4 separate regions of the Homo sapiens genome follow, and all the other regions are linked to region 4. Evidence: promoter capture Hi-C in human tissues and cell types (Jung and others, 2019). All regions are on one chromosome and are shown on one strand. The core of a region is centred on a gene start or on the middle of the fragment in contact, and the rest is flanking DNA. Distances in the headings are between cores, read along the strand shown.

Evidence for each region. The method cuts DNA at HindIII sites, captures the fragments that hold promoters and counts their contacts. A contact is called where the count stands out against the background at its distance.
Region 1: a contact is called between a fragment that was not itself captured here and the fragment with the promoter of EFNA4 in region 4, in 1 of the 25 tissues and cell types used here (adrenal gland).
Region 2: a contact is called between a fragment that was not itself captured here and the fragment with the promoter of EFNA4 in region 4, in 2 of the 25 tissues and cell types used here (IMR-90 fibroblasts and dorsolateral prefrontal cortex).
Region 3: a contact is called between a fragment that was not itself captured here and the fragment with the promoter of EFNA4 in region 4, in 1 of the 25 tissues and cell types used here (spleen).

What each region holds. Positions count from the first base shown.
Region 1 is chr1:154,765,521-154,768,707 of GRCh38, reverse strand. The region is part of intron 3 of KCNN3 (potassium calcium-activated channel subfamily N member 3); the gene reads left to right. Among named protein-coding and RNA genes, the nearest start is that of KCNN3, 100 kb to the left of the region's middle. The HindIII fragment of the contact is 3,402 bases long and covers 1-3,161 here.
Region 2 is chr1:154,684,983-154,688,128 of GRCh38, reverse strand. No RefSeq gene overlaps it. Among named protein-coding and RNA genes, the nearest start is that of ADAR, 78 kb to the right of the region's middle. The HindIII fragment of the contact is 4,265 bases long and covers 1-3,146 here.
Region 3 is chr1:154,656,471-154,659,646 of GRCh38, reverse strand. No RefSeq gene overlaps it. Among named protein-coding and RNA genes, the nearest start is that of ADAR, 50 kb to the right of the region's middle. The HindIII fragment of the contact is 9,513 bases long and covers 1-3,176 here.
Region 4 is chr1:155,062,490-155,065,775 of GRCh38, reverse strand. It overlaps EFNA4 (ephrin A4), which reads right to left and starts at 2,036. Exons shown (of 4, transcript NM_005227.3): 1 at 1,840-2,036. The coding sequence starts at 1,952. It overlaps ADAM15 (ADAM metallopeptidase domain 15), which reads right to left. Exons shown (of 23, transcript NM_207197.3): 23 at 3,001-3,286. The coding sequence ends at 3,274. It overlaps EFNA4-EFNA3 (EFNA4-EFNA3 readthrough), which reads right to left and starts at 2,036. Exons shown (of 5, transcript NM_001407761.1): 1 at 1,840-2,036. The coding sequence starts at 1,952. It overlaps DCST1-AS1 (DCST1 antisense RNA 1), which reads left to right and starts at 1,785. Exons shown (of 4, transcript NR_040773.1): 1 at 1,785-2,019. It also overlaps ADAM15-EFNA4. RefSeq lists an enhancer at 584-1,085 and silencers at 1,576-1,725, 2,016-2,165, 2,546-2,635. The HindIII fragment of the contact is 5,150 bases long and covers 1-3,286 here.

The DNA of each region.
Region 1 (3,187 bases), core at 211-2,710, 300 kb after region 4:
GGCTCTCCTTCCCTTAGCTGGGGTTGTGACTGAGTCCCTCTCTTCAGGTCAAACCCCTTGCCTGGGGGCAGCAAGCTCCCGAGGGGATTTGTCAGTGTGGGAGTTCAAAGGCCTAACCCCGTTTGCTTCTAGTAGGACACTCAGCCAGGCTCCAGGGTCCCTGAGGGATCGCCTAAGGCCTCTGTTACCACTGCATCCGGGAACTTCCTCTATACCCCAGAGGTATTGATCCTGAGAGCAGCCCCAGTAAAACTCCCACCCCCAAATCTCAGCATCTCACAGACTGTTTCCCAGGAATCTGCCCCGTTAATATATTGTTTCCTAAACAGGCAAAGCACTTCTCTTACCAAGACTAAGCACTATTTTTAGAATCAAGCTTAAATGATCATTCTGTTTCCCAATGTCAAATAATAAGTAAGATTGGCAGAGGCCTTCAGCCAGGACTTATTCAGCCAGAGACTGGACAGAAGCTGGAAGCAGGGGAAGCTTTGGGGAACTGAAGCGTCAGACCAGGGTAGTGTGGACAGGATGCCTTGATCTCTCTCAGCCTGATCTAATGATGATTCTATCACCTTAGGCATCAGAGAGGGTAAGTGACTTGCCCAGGGTCACACAGCAGCATGACAGGTTCTAGAAAAATCCACAGCTGCTGATGCCCAGAGCCTGTTCACATTCCAGGTAGCTTTCATCAGCCTGGACTTATCTCTAGTTGTATACACACACTTCTGAAGTTGCTATGGAAATCTCTCTACAGCAAGATGTATTTTAAAAGACAGTTCTCATATCTTGGGTTGGTTTTTATGTGACAACAAAGGTTTTTCATATTTCCTCCTCCCAAGGAGAGAAAGTGGGATCATAATTACGCAGAACAGCCGTGCCATGGGGAGGGCAGCGCCTGGTTGCTGGGAGGGCAGTGACAACAGTGGGCTTGTTTTCCTTGGCCCCCAGAGAGGCATTACATCATGGGTTCCGAGGCCTGACAGTTGTGGCACTCTGCATTCTCTGGGATTCTCCTGGCTGCCTGCCCACCTCCCTCAGGGAGGAACCTCCTGATTTTACACTGTCAAGTGCCAAGCAGCTTTACTGGTGGAGAGACCATCTGAGGCCCCGGGTCCTCACTGCGGCAGCAGGTTGGAGAGCCAGCCTTCCTAGCGTGCCTTGAGCAGTGCAGTGGCCTGCCAGCTCACCTTTGTATGTTTATCTCCTTGGGAGGAGCAACAAGGCCTCCCATAACATTGATGAAGTGGGGTGAGCCTTGCTGTCACAGCCATGCTTTATAAATGACCTTACTGTCCTCTTGAGTGGATTCCCTTCGGACCCTTTGGACCCTTCACTTTGGTCCCTCCTGAGGCTCCAAATTCTGCAACAGGCTGTCTCAGTGTCCCAGGCCTTCCAGTCTGTCAACAGGTTTTTTATTTTGCTGGTTAACTTTTGGCATACTGATATTTTAATGAGAAATTTTATTCTGGAGATCTGGCTCCTAAAGCAGGAGAAAAACAATTTGTGGCCCATTCTTTCTCTCATTAAGAGAGCCACCACTCCCATTGTAAGGAGATAAAAAGAGGCTTCCTTGCTGTACTCTCTTCTGCCCCTGCCTCAGACACCCAGGCCTGCACTTGCCAGCAGCAGGAAGCAAGACCACAGCTCCCTCCTCCTCCCATCTCCTTCCCACAACCTCCTACCCCCTCCAAGAAGGGGTACTTCCACTCCAAGAAAACAGTAGGAATGGCCAGGCTCGGTGGCTCACGCCTGTAATCCCAGCACTTTGGGAGGCCGAGGCGGGCAGATCACGAGGTCAGGAGATCGAGACCATCCTGGCTAACACGGTGAAACCCCCGTCTCTACTAAAAATACAAAAAAATTAGCCGGGCATGGTGGCACACACCTGTAGTCCCAGCTACTCGGGAGGCTGGGACAGGAGAATGGCGTGAACCCAGGAGGCGGAGCTTGCAGTGAGCCGAGATCACGCCACTGCACTCCAGCCTGGGTGACAGAGCCAGACTCCATCTCAAAAAAAAAAAAACAAACCCCAAAACAAAACAGTAGGAAAGTGGTCATTACAGGGATGAAGCACCCTACATGGGGTTGATGGAAGCCTGCAAGCTAAACCCTGTAGGCTGAGCAGAACTGAGCAGAGCCTGGGAACAGTGGGGCCAGGCACTGTGGTTCCTCATGGACTGCTTTGGTTTGAGTTATAACCTCCAATGTGGGGCACACGCACAGTGATCCATGGGACTATTGGGAGAAATGATCAGAACTTCTACATATATATATATATATATATATATATAAAGCCTGGCTAGTATTTAATAAATGGATAGAGAGCAATACATGTCTGTAATTTATAATAAATATATGTATAATGGAGGAGGGCATGCTCAAAAAATTTTTAATTGGTAGGAGCCCATGATTTTAAAAGTTTGCAAACCACTGGTTTATGATATCAGAGGACTAGTTAGAGAGGATAGGAAAGTAGCCTACCACATGGGATGAAGCCTGCTAGACCCAGGAACCCTGCCCTCTAGCTGGAGAAGTGAGAAGTTAGCCTCCTGTAGGGAAGGAGCAGCCTGTAGCGATCCCCTTCTGGTGCCAGGCGGAGAGATAGATGGCTGGGGAGGGGGAAGGTGGGGAGGCGACAGGGATCCTGCTGGAGGCCTTTGAGAAAAACCTGCAGCATTAAGGAAGAGGAAAATAATCCTGAAGATTCCTGAAAAATGTTTAATTATGAAAAACAAAAAGCAACATTAGAAGAGTCTTGGGTGGCCAGGCACAGTGGCTCACGCCTGTAATCCCAACACTTTGGGAGGTCAAAGCAGGTGGATCGCTTGAGGTCAGGAGTTGGAGACCAGCCTGACCAACACAGCAAAAACCCATCTCTGCCAAAAACAAAACAAAACAAAACAAAAAAAAACCAAAAAAAACATTAGCCGGGAGTGGTGGTGCATCTGTAGACTCAGGAGGCTGAGGTGGGGGGATCACCTAACCTGGGAGGTCAAGAGTGCAGCGAGCAGAGATTGCGCCACTGCACTCCAGCCTGGGTGACAGAGTGAGACCCTGTCTCAAAAAAAAAAAAAAAAAAGGAAAAAGAAAGAAGAGTCTTGGGCATCTCTAATAGGGTGCCAGAATATATATGATCCTTATGATAGAGAAGAGTGGGCAGATGTGAAATGAAAATGTATCTGGTTCA
Region 2 (3,146 bases), core at 637-3,136, 380 kb after region 4:
CCGAGGCTTTGATATTTCTGAAGAACAAGGTGGAAGGATTTGCCTTACCATATATCACGGGTGTTTGTCATAAAGCTTTAATAATTAAGGTAATGAGGTCTTTGTGTAGAGAGAGAGAGGCAAATTGAACAATGGAACACAATAGAGAGCTGATAAACAGACTCACACATTGATGGAAACTTGATTTATTATTGAGCTGGCCTTGCAAATCAGGTGGGGAAGAAAAGTGGGATATTCAATAAATGATGTTGGAACAGTAGTTACCTAAACTTACATACAAAAATTAACTCTGGTTGAATTAAAAGCATAAATGTAAAGAAAAATTGTGATACTTTTCAGAAGGCAATGGAAAACATTTCTTAAAGAAGACTCCAAAAGCTCAAATCCTAAGGGGAATGATTGACAAATTTGCGTAGATTACATTAAGCCCTTCTGTTCCATAATTTTTTTTTAAGTGAGCAGACAAGCCACAAATTTGGAGATGTTTGCAATTCATATAACTTACAAAGTCAAGCAATTCCCCCTCCGAGGGAAAAATAAAACAGGCAAAAGCAAGGAACAGGGACTTCACAGTAAAGGAATCACAAATGGCCATAAACATGAAAAGATGGTCAACTTCATTAGCAATCAAGGAAATGCAAATGAAATCACAAAGTACCACTTCCCAACCACTACAGTGACCAAAAAAACTCCTGAAAATCAGACAATACCAAACATCGTATATGGAGCAACGGGACCTCTCACCTACTACTAGTTGATGTGTAATTGGTATAAGCACTTTGGAAAACCATTTGGCATTATTAAGACAAGTTAAATATGTGCCTATCTAAAGACACAGTATTATTTGCAAAACAAAACCCCAAAACCAATAGACTTAACCCAAATCAAGAATAGGATGGATAATAATTCACTGGATGAAGAGTCATCCAAAGGAATATGATGCAACAACGAAAATGAAATAAATGAACTACAGGTGTGTGCATCAGCAGCCGTGACTCTCAGTCACACAATGTTGAGGGAGGAAGCAAGCCAGGGAAGATGGCTTGTTTTGCATACAATCTGCATGTTCCAGTGGTGTGATCTTCAAACACAGGCAAAAGTAAATAATAGGCTTAAAGATACACATATTGGACCTCATGGGGGAGGCACAGGGATGAGGTTGGGGAGGGGTGCCAGGGGAATTCTAAGCTCCTGAAACTGTTCTAGTTCTCAATCAGGGTAGGCAATACACAGGTGTTCACTTTATTCTCCTTTAACTTGGATAAGGATGTGTTTATACACTCTTTCATATGCCTGCTATACTTTATGGTTTTAAAATTTCTTAATAAAGCAGCATCCTAAAAATGCAGTTTTCCCTCTGGTCCAGTGTGGCTGACTGGCATAGAGAGTGTATTTGCATCTGAGGTCGCTGGGAGGAATGACCTGACACCAGTGAAGCTGGCAGAGCTGCAGGGCACACTGGAGCCTCTGGCCATCTGGAGTTCAGAAGACAAGACGTCCACACTTCAGTTAGAAGCAGACCTTTATCTCCAGAGGACTTTGATGTTGAAGATATGACAGAAGCTCCTACAAACTGAGAAGGGACAAAGGAGAAAACAGTCCCTGCAAGTTTCCATGAGGAAAAAGAGCCCTGCTTAGTCTGGGATTGGAGTCAGCTAGACCAGAATTCTTTTTTCTTTTTCTTTTTTTTTTTTTGAGATGGAGTCTTGCTCTGTCGCCCAGGCTGGAGTGCAGTGGCCCAATCTCGGCTCACTGCAAGCTCCGTCTCCCGGGTTCACGCCATTCTCCTGCCTCAGCCTCCCGAGTAGCTGGGACTACAGGCACCCGCCACCACACCCAGCTAATTTTTTGTATTTTTAGTAGAGACAGGGTTTCACTGTGTTAGCCAGGATGTAGACCAGAATTCTTATCTTGACTTAGGTATTTACCAGCTAGTAACCTTCTTGGAGAAAGTTGCTTCAACTCTGAGCCTCAGTATCCCCATCTGCAAAAGGGGAATAATGATGGGACCTTTGCCAGAAGATTGCTGTGAAGATTAAATGAGAGAACATATGTGAGGTCACCTCCTACAGGCACACACAGCCGAGCCTCATGTTGCTTGTGTAGAGCTGCTTGTTATTTCCAAGCTTTGTGTTTTACCCAGAGGGAGCTGACTTACTTAACCATTGTTTCTTTTCATCTAATGATGGCGATTTCTAGTCTCTGCCATATCTAGCTCCAACTGATTCTCAGCATAAAATAAGGAGGGCCGGAAATCTCAACATAGTGTCCCAAGGCCTGCAAATCAAGAATGTGGCTGGCACAGCTCATATTATACCCATGGAATCTAAGCACATCATGCACTGTGATTAAAAAGAGGCTTTACTGCTTCAATCTTGATCATCCTCCCAACCATCAAGAAATCGTTAGAACTGACAAATATCCCAATATAATTTTGCAGAAATCTGAATTTTTAAAAGAAGGCCATTAAAAAGTTGAGCCCAGGCAGAGCATGGTGGCTCATGCCTGTAATCACAGCACTTTGGGAGGCCGAGGAGGGCGGATCACGAGGTCAGGAGTTTGAGACCAGCCTGGCCAACATGGTGAAACCCTGTCTCTACTAAAAATACAAAAATTAGCTGGGCGTGGTGGCGGGCACCTGTAATCCCAGCTACTCAGGAGGCTGAGGCAGGAGAATTGCTTGAACCCAGGAGGCGGAGGTTGCAGTGAGCCAAGATCGCACCACTGTACTCCAGCCTGGGCGACAGTGCAAGAATCTGTCTGTCTAAAAAAAAAAAAAAAAAAAAAAAAATCGAGCCTGGAACATAAAGGAAAACTCTGCGGCCCTGGGGAGGTGGCAACCCCTTGTTGCTGCTGAGGAGGCTCTCAGAGGCCTGTGTGTGCTGCGTTGCCTCCCCACCTCACCCCTACAGAGCGCCCCCCACACTTGTAACCCCGGCAGGTGCACAGCTCCTCCCCACAGCTCTCAGCCCTTCTGCCCACCTAACCCGCTAGTTAGTTAGGCCCCTCTGCCATCTTCCACCGAGTGGGGACTGGCACAGAAATGGATTCTCCCCAGTCGTGCCTCCATATCCTGCACTGTGAAAATACTCTCTTTTCTTCCTTTCCCCCCAAATGAGGTAAGTCTGTGAAATAACAACCACCAT
Region 3 (3,176 bases), core at 503-3,002, 410 kb after region 4:
TATCACTATCAACTATTTTATAAACCAAAAGGCAAAGCTTAGTGCCCTTGCAAGCTGGAGAATTGGTTGTAAAATCTTCCATAAAGTCAGGGCCCCCAAAGGGCTATCCTCTCAGTGAAAGAATGAACTAGAAAGAAAAGCCTGTCTCATAAAGGAGAAGGACATACCTCTGAATAAAATGAAATAAAATCTCCCCCAAAATAACTCATAAGCATTAAGTTGTCCTTCACAAAGCATTGGTGCCAAAATTCATGCTACCTGTTTGGTCAAAACAATTCCAAGCCAAGAATGTAAAGTGGTCCCAAGTTTGGTGTGTCCCTAATGTACTTAGCAGAGGAAAAACAAATCCTTTCTAATGGAATACACCTTTAATGTAAATTTTGAAGATTATTCACAGGTGCAGTTCCAACAAACATGAGATCACAATGAAAATTACAGGATACATATGAGGAAAAGACACCATGTGAGAAAGTCAGCAGAGAGGCCGGGCGCAGTGGCTCACGCCTGTAATCCCAGCACTTTGGGAGGCCGAGGGGGGCAGATCACGAGGTCAGGAAATCGAGACCATCCTGGCTAACACAGTGAAACCCTGCCTCTACTAAAAATACAAAAACAAAATTAGCCGGGCGTGGTGGCAGGCGCCTGTAGTCCCAGCTACTCGGGAGGCTGAGGCAGGAGAATGGCGTGAACCTGGGAGGTGGAGCTTGCAGTGAGCTGAGATAGCGCCACTGCACTCCAGCCTGGGCGACAGAGCGAGACTCCATCTCAAAAAAAAAGAAAAAGAAAAAGAAAGAAAGTCAGCAGAGAAATTAACAGCAAAATCAGACTCGCAAAGACTTCAGCATTGACGTGACCATATGAAGTAAAACAAATGAGGAATTGACAGGTTTTTAAGAAGATTTTAAAACATGATAGAGGAACAAGACTATAAAAATGACCTTGATATGAAAAAATGTCAAACATAAATTGTAGAAATAAAAAACAAAATTGCCGAAATTAAGACTTCAACACCGAAAAGGTTGGAAATTAATAACTTTAAATGCTTATAATTTAAAAAGTAGAGAGAATAAAAATAATGAGCTAAATCTCCAACTTGGGAAATCAGAAAAAGAACAGCAGAATAACCATGAGGAAAGTAGTAGGAAGAAAAAAATAACAATAAGTAGAGAAAGTAATGAAACTGAAAACGGAGGATCAACAAAGCCAAAATTGATTCTTTGAAGTTGAAAGACTTCTGGAAAAATTTAAGAGACAGAGATAAACAGCATGTACAGATAAGCAATACTGAAAACTGAAAACGAGATAAAAATCTATAACTATGGTTATAGTGAACATTTAAACATAAAAGTATAAACAAATCAATGCTAATAATTCAAAACTTAGATGATATGGAAAACGTCCTAGAAAATATAATTTACCAAAACAGATTCAAGACTAGAAAGGCAGAATGAATAGCTCTATAATAATTAAAGAAATTCAATCAGTATTTAAAGTGTTCCCGCAAAGAAAATACCAAGCCCTGATATTTTCCAGGTGAGTTATATGAAATTTTCAAGGAGAAGATCATTCCAATCTTATAGGAGTTTTTGTGGACGATAGAAAAAGAGAGAATACTTGCCAGCTCAGTTTTGGAGGCATCTCTCGCTATTTCTGTGAGGTCTTTACACATGATCTCTCTAGTATGGTGGCTTCAGGGTAGCTAGACTTCTTATGTGTTGGCTCAGGTCTCCCAAGATGCTTGGAGAGGGTGTGTGTACGTGTGGAGAGAGATAGAGACAGAAACGCACACACACACACACACACACACACACAGAGAGAGAGAGAGAGAGAGAGAGAGAGACATGATATGAGAAGTGCTAGCCTTAGACTTGCTTTAGCCAATGCAGAGTGAGCAGAAGTGACAGACTCCCAGCCAGAAGCCTAAGAGCCAGTGCATGCTTCTCCAAGTTCCCTTTTCCCTCCACAACTGGCAATGTTCTACAGTAGCTTCCCTTTCAGGCTGAGCCTCAAAGTAAGAATGATGAAAATGTGGAACATTCTAAGGATTTTAGAAGGTGAAAAAACAGATAGAAAAAAATTAAAATGTGGAATAGAGCCCCCTGACTCATGATGAACATGTAGCATGAGGAAGAAATAAACTTTTTTGGTTGTTTTATTGCCATAACACAACCAGTCTTTCCTGACTGGTATGGGCACCTGGGAATAATTGCAGTACTGATACAAAGAAGATCATGATGCTTTATTGAAATACATTAAGAAGAATTAAGTAAAAAGAGAGAAATATTATCAATGGCTAGAAAGTCTCAATATCCTAAATTCTCACCCAAATGTCTCATAGATTCAGTGCCATTTCTATCAAAACTTTAAAGTGTTTTTCATAATTTTGACAAGCCAATTCTAAAATATATGTGAAAGAGCAAAGAGCCAAGATGATCCAAGGTACTCTCTAAAAAAGAATAAAATCAGCAATTACATTCTTGGGCATTTATCCCAGAGATATGAAAAGTTATAGTCACCCAAAACCTATGCTCAGATGTTTATAGCCACTTTATTCATAACATCTCAAAACTGAAAATAGCCCAAGTATACTTCAATGGGCGAGTGGTTAAGCAAACTGGTATATCCATACCATGGACTAGGATTCAGTCATAAAAAGGAATGGGCTATTAATACGTGTAACAATCTAGATGAATCTCATGGGAATTATGCTGAGTTGAAAAAAAAAAGCCTATCTCAAAAGGCTACATACAGTATTATTTCATTTATATAACATTACTTAAATAACAAAATTATAGAGATGGAGAACACGTTAATTGTTGTCAAGAATTAGGAATGAGGGGAAGGGGGACTGGTTGTGGCTATAAAGGGGTAGCACAAGGGAGCCTTGCAATGATGAAGCTGTTCTTTATCTTGATTTTGGTGGTGGTTACACAAATATATACACATAATAAATTTGATACAAGACATGAATATAGACACCCAAGAAGTAAAATAAACTAAAGAGACCCACTCTGAGACACATTGTAATCAAACTTTTGAAAGACAAAGAGAGAATCTTGAAAGCAGAAAGAAAAAAGCAACTTGTCACACACAAGGGATCCTAATTAAGATTATCAGAGAACTTCTCATGAGAAACTTTGGAGTCCAGGAAGCAGCTGGCCAATATATTTGAAGTG
Region 4 (3,286 bases), core at 787-3,286:
GGGAGACAGAGCGAGACTCCATCTCAAAAAATAAATAAATAAATAAATAAATAAATAAATAAATAAATAAATAAAGGCCATGAGTGGTGGTGCACTCCTGTAGTCCCAGCTACTTGGGAGGCTGAGGCGGGAGGATCCTTAGAGTCCGCAAGTTCCTGTAGTGAGCTATTATGCCACCGCACTACAGCCTGGGTGACAGAGCAAGACCCTGTCTCTAAATTCTAAAAATTAAAAAAAAAAAAAAAAAAAGAATGAGGGAGTGGGTGCTAGGTGCCTCCCTTTTTTGGCCAGGAGGAGCAAGTGCCAGGCATGGGGGGAGTCCACATACTACCCAGTCTTCAGTCTTCTCAGGACTCCCTTCCCCACCTCTTGGGAGCTGCCTGGGGAAGCCAGCACAGGTGGGAAGGGCTGGAAGGGGCTGCTCCCCACAGTACTGAATGCTGCATGAACCACCCCCCATACCACAAACACAGCGAAGCATGACTTAGGAAAAGCCTCCAGTGGGTGGTCCAAGGACGACCTGTATCAGTTCTGATTAGAAATGAAGATTCCTGGGCTCAGCCAGCCCAGACTTACTAGAACGCAAGCTGAGCAAGGACAGGGCCTTGGTAAGTTTTGTTCTACTGCATCCCCCGTGCCTGGAAAAGTGCCCAGCACAGGACAGTGTTCAATAAATATTTGTGGATTGAATGAATGAGCCAGAAACCTTAAGATTGGGGGGTGAGAAACCTGAATTTTTAACAGGTCCTCCAAGTGATTCAGAAGCTTTGGTCTGTGACAGAGATAGAGAATTCAGAGTCCAAGGACAACAAAAGCTCTTATCACTTGTTATTGGTATTGTAATGACCTGTCTTTATGCAGGCTCTCCTGCCTGCGCCTGTTCTCCAGAGAGTCTGTGGAATCCCAGAGGGCAGGGTCTTGATCTTCTCATCTATATAGTTAATCCCCTGCAACCTAGCACAGGGCCGGGCACACACAGTATGTGTTTAATAAATAAATGTTAGTGAGTGAAGAAATGAATAGTCACAGATTGTCTCAAGTAGAAAATCAGAAAGAAAAACAGATAGGAAATAGGAGAGGCAGGGAGACTTGGGGAGGGGGATGGAAACAGTAAAATATACTAAGGTTCAAAGGCAGGCAGCTCAGGAGAGAGAAAGAAATAATAGTTTATATCTGTACAGCCTGAGCCTCTTTCACATACATGACCTCACTTACCCTGCCAGACTTCCCAGGGTACTAGGTATTATTAGCCCATTATACAGGTGAGATAAATGAGGTTAGGAAGGTCACGAGACTTGCCCAGAGGTGATTCGGCTAGAAGGGCAGGGCTGACACTGGAAAGAAACAGAAGGACCAATAAAGACAGAGATGAAAGCAGAGATAGCAAATGAGATCAGGAGACAGAGTGAGAGCCAGAGGTGAGACCCAGCGGGCAGGAGAGTAACCCACGCTCTTTCATAAGAGTAAAGCCCCCTCCCTCGCTCTCAAGTTCGTCAGCCACAGCTCCAGCCTGCGGGAGGCTGGGGATCGCCAGGAGAGCAGCGAGGGGGGCGGAGCCCGGAGTGCGGGCAAAGGCCCCCCCAGCTCCATGCTCCAAGACCCCCTAGACAACCCTTGGGGCTGGGGTCTTCTGCCTGCCCCCCAACACATGCGGGCTGTGGGGAGACCCAGGGCGCGCCTCGCCCCTCGCCCCTCCCCCCTCCCCCGCCGGCTCAAACAAAGGAGCCCCGGCGCGCGGCCAGGCTCAGGCGGCGCCGCGCAAAGAGCGGGTGGCGGGCGCGCGCAAAGCCCGGGAGCGCGCAGACTTGGCTGTGCGCTCGCCCGGTTCGGCCCGGCTACCTGGGGTTACTGGAGTTCCAGTAGACTACGTGGCGGAGGCTGGAGCCCCCGCGCAGAGGGGAGCCGAGGAACGCGGCCCAGAGGACAGTCCGCAGCAGGGGCAGCAGCCGCATCGCCCCCGAGGTCCGGTTTGGTCTGGCCTGGCAGGTCCCGGCCCGCTTCACAGTCGAGGAGAGAAAGGTACAAAGTGAAGAGGGAAGTTGCGGAAAGGGGAGTGGGGTACGGAGATTCACTGACCCCGCCCCTGAATAACTTTCCGCCAATGGGAGCGCGTCTCCTCCTCTCCACCCAGCGCCAACTCCAGTTAACCCTCTGTGCACCGCAGCGCGCGCCAGGTTCGCCAAAGCTTCCACTGAGGCTGCACCGCACTGCGAGGGGGCGGGAAGGAAGGACGTATTCCAACAGCAGTATTTTTAGGGAGGTCATCTCTTTCGTGTCTGCTTTAGTGCAGGGTAGACTGCCTTATTAGAAGTTTGGAAGATTTTAAATAAGGGTACATAACCTTTGCCCAGATAGGGGAAAGTGAGGCGCGGGCGAGGATCCATGAAGCCTGTCCAACCACCTTCATGCACTGCCCCGTTTTCTTTGCACATCTAGGGACAGTGCAAGCGGAAGGGACAACACAGCTCTGGGACCACCTTCCCTAAAGAGCCTTAGGTGGCGCGCTAGATGCTCACTTTAGGATTGGCGTCTGTCCCTTGCCGCTCCACACCTTCGTTCCGGGCTGGGGGCCCACGCGGCCCCAGTCCCTAAGACGAAGTAATGAGGTGGTTGCGGCCTGTACAAAGCACCTTTGTTCCCGATCCCTCAGGTGGCGGCGGCGGAGGGGGAGGAGGCAGGTGCGCGGCCTTGGGATCGTGGGAGCAGCCGCCGCCCCGCTCCGCCCTGGCTCCTGGGCTCTGGGAGCATCAGCCAGATCCACTTTTCCCAGCCAATGGTCAGAGTGGGGACGGCAGGTCCAACAGCTTGACAGATTGCGCCGAAAGCCACCCCAGTCTGGGCAGAGGGAAGCTGCGAGCATCCCGGGGACACACGCCGACCCTTTCTGGTACTCCCGCCCCACACAGCCCGCCCTCGTCTGAGGCGGCAGCGTCTTCTGGCGGCCAAACCTGGAACCGCAGCAGGAGCGACCCGGGTTCTAGAAGCAGACAAACTCTGGGGAACGCTCCCAAGATGTCACGTTTATTGCAACTGAGCAGAGACAGGCTGTGCGGACCTTCCTCAATCCCGTCCAACCCCCAGCCCCTCCCCAAGCCCCCGCTGCAACTACGCCGGCAGGTCCGCAGAGTGTTGCTTGACAGCGCGTGGCGGTGCCCGGAGTCTTAAGACACCGCCAGTCTCTGGCGCCTTCAGTCATGGTAGGGGACTCCAGAGGGCACGCCCGCCTCTTGAAGCCCTAAGTCCGGCTTGGAGGCAGCGGAACCTCCGGAGAGGTCAGAGGTAGAGC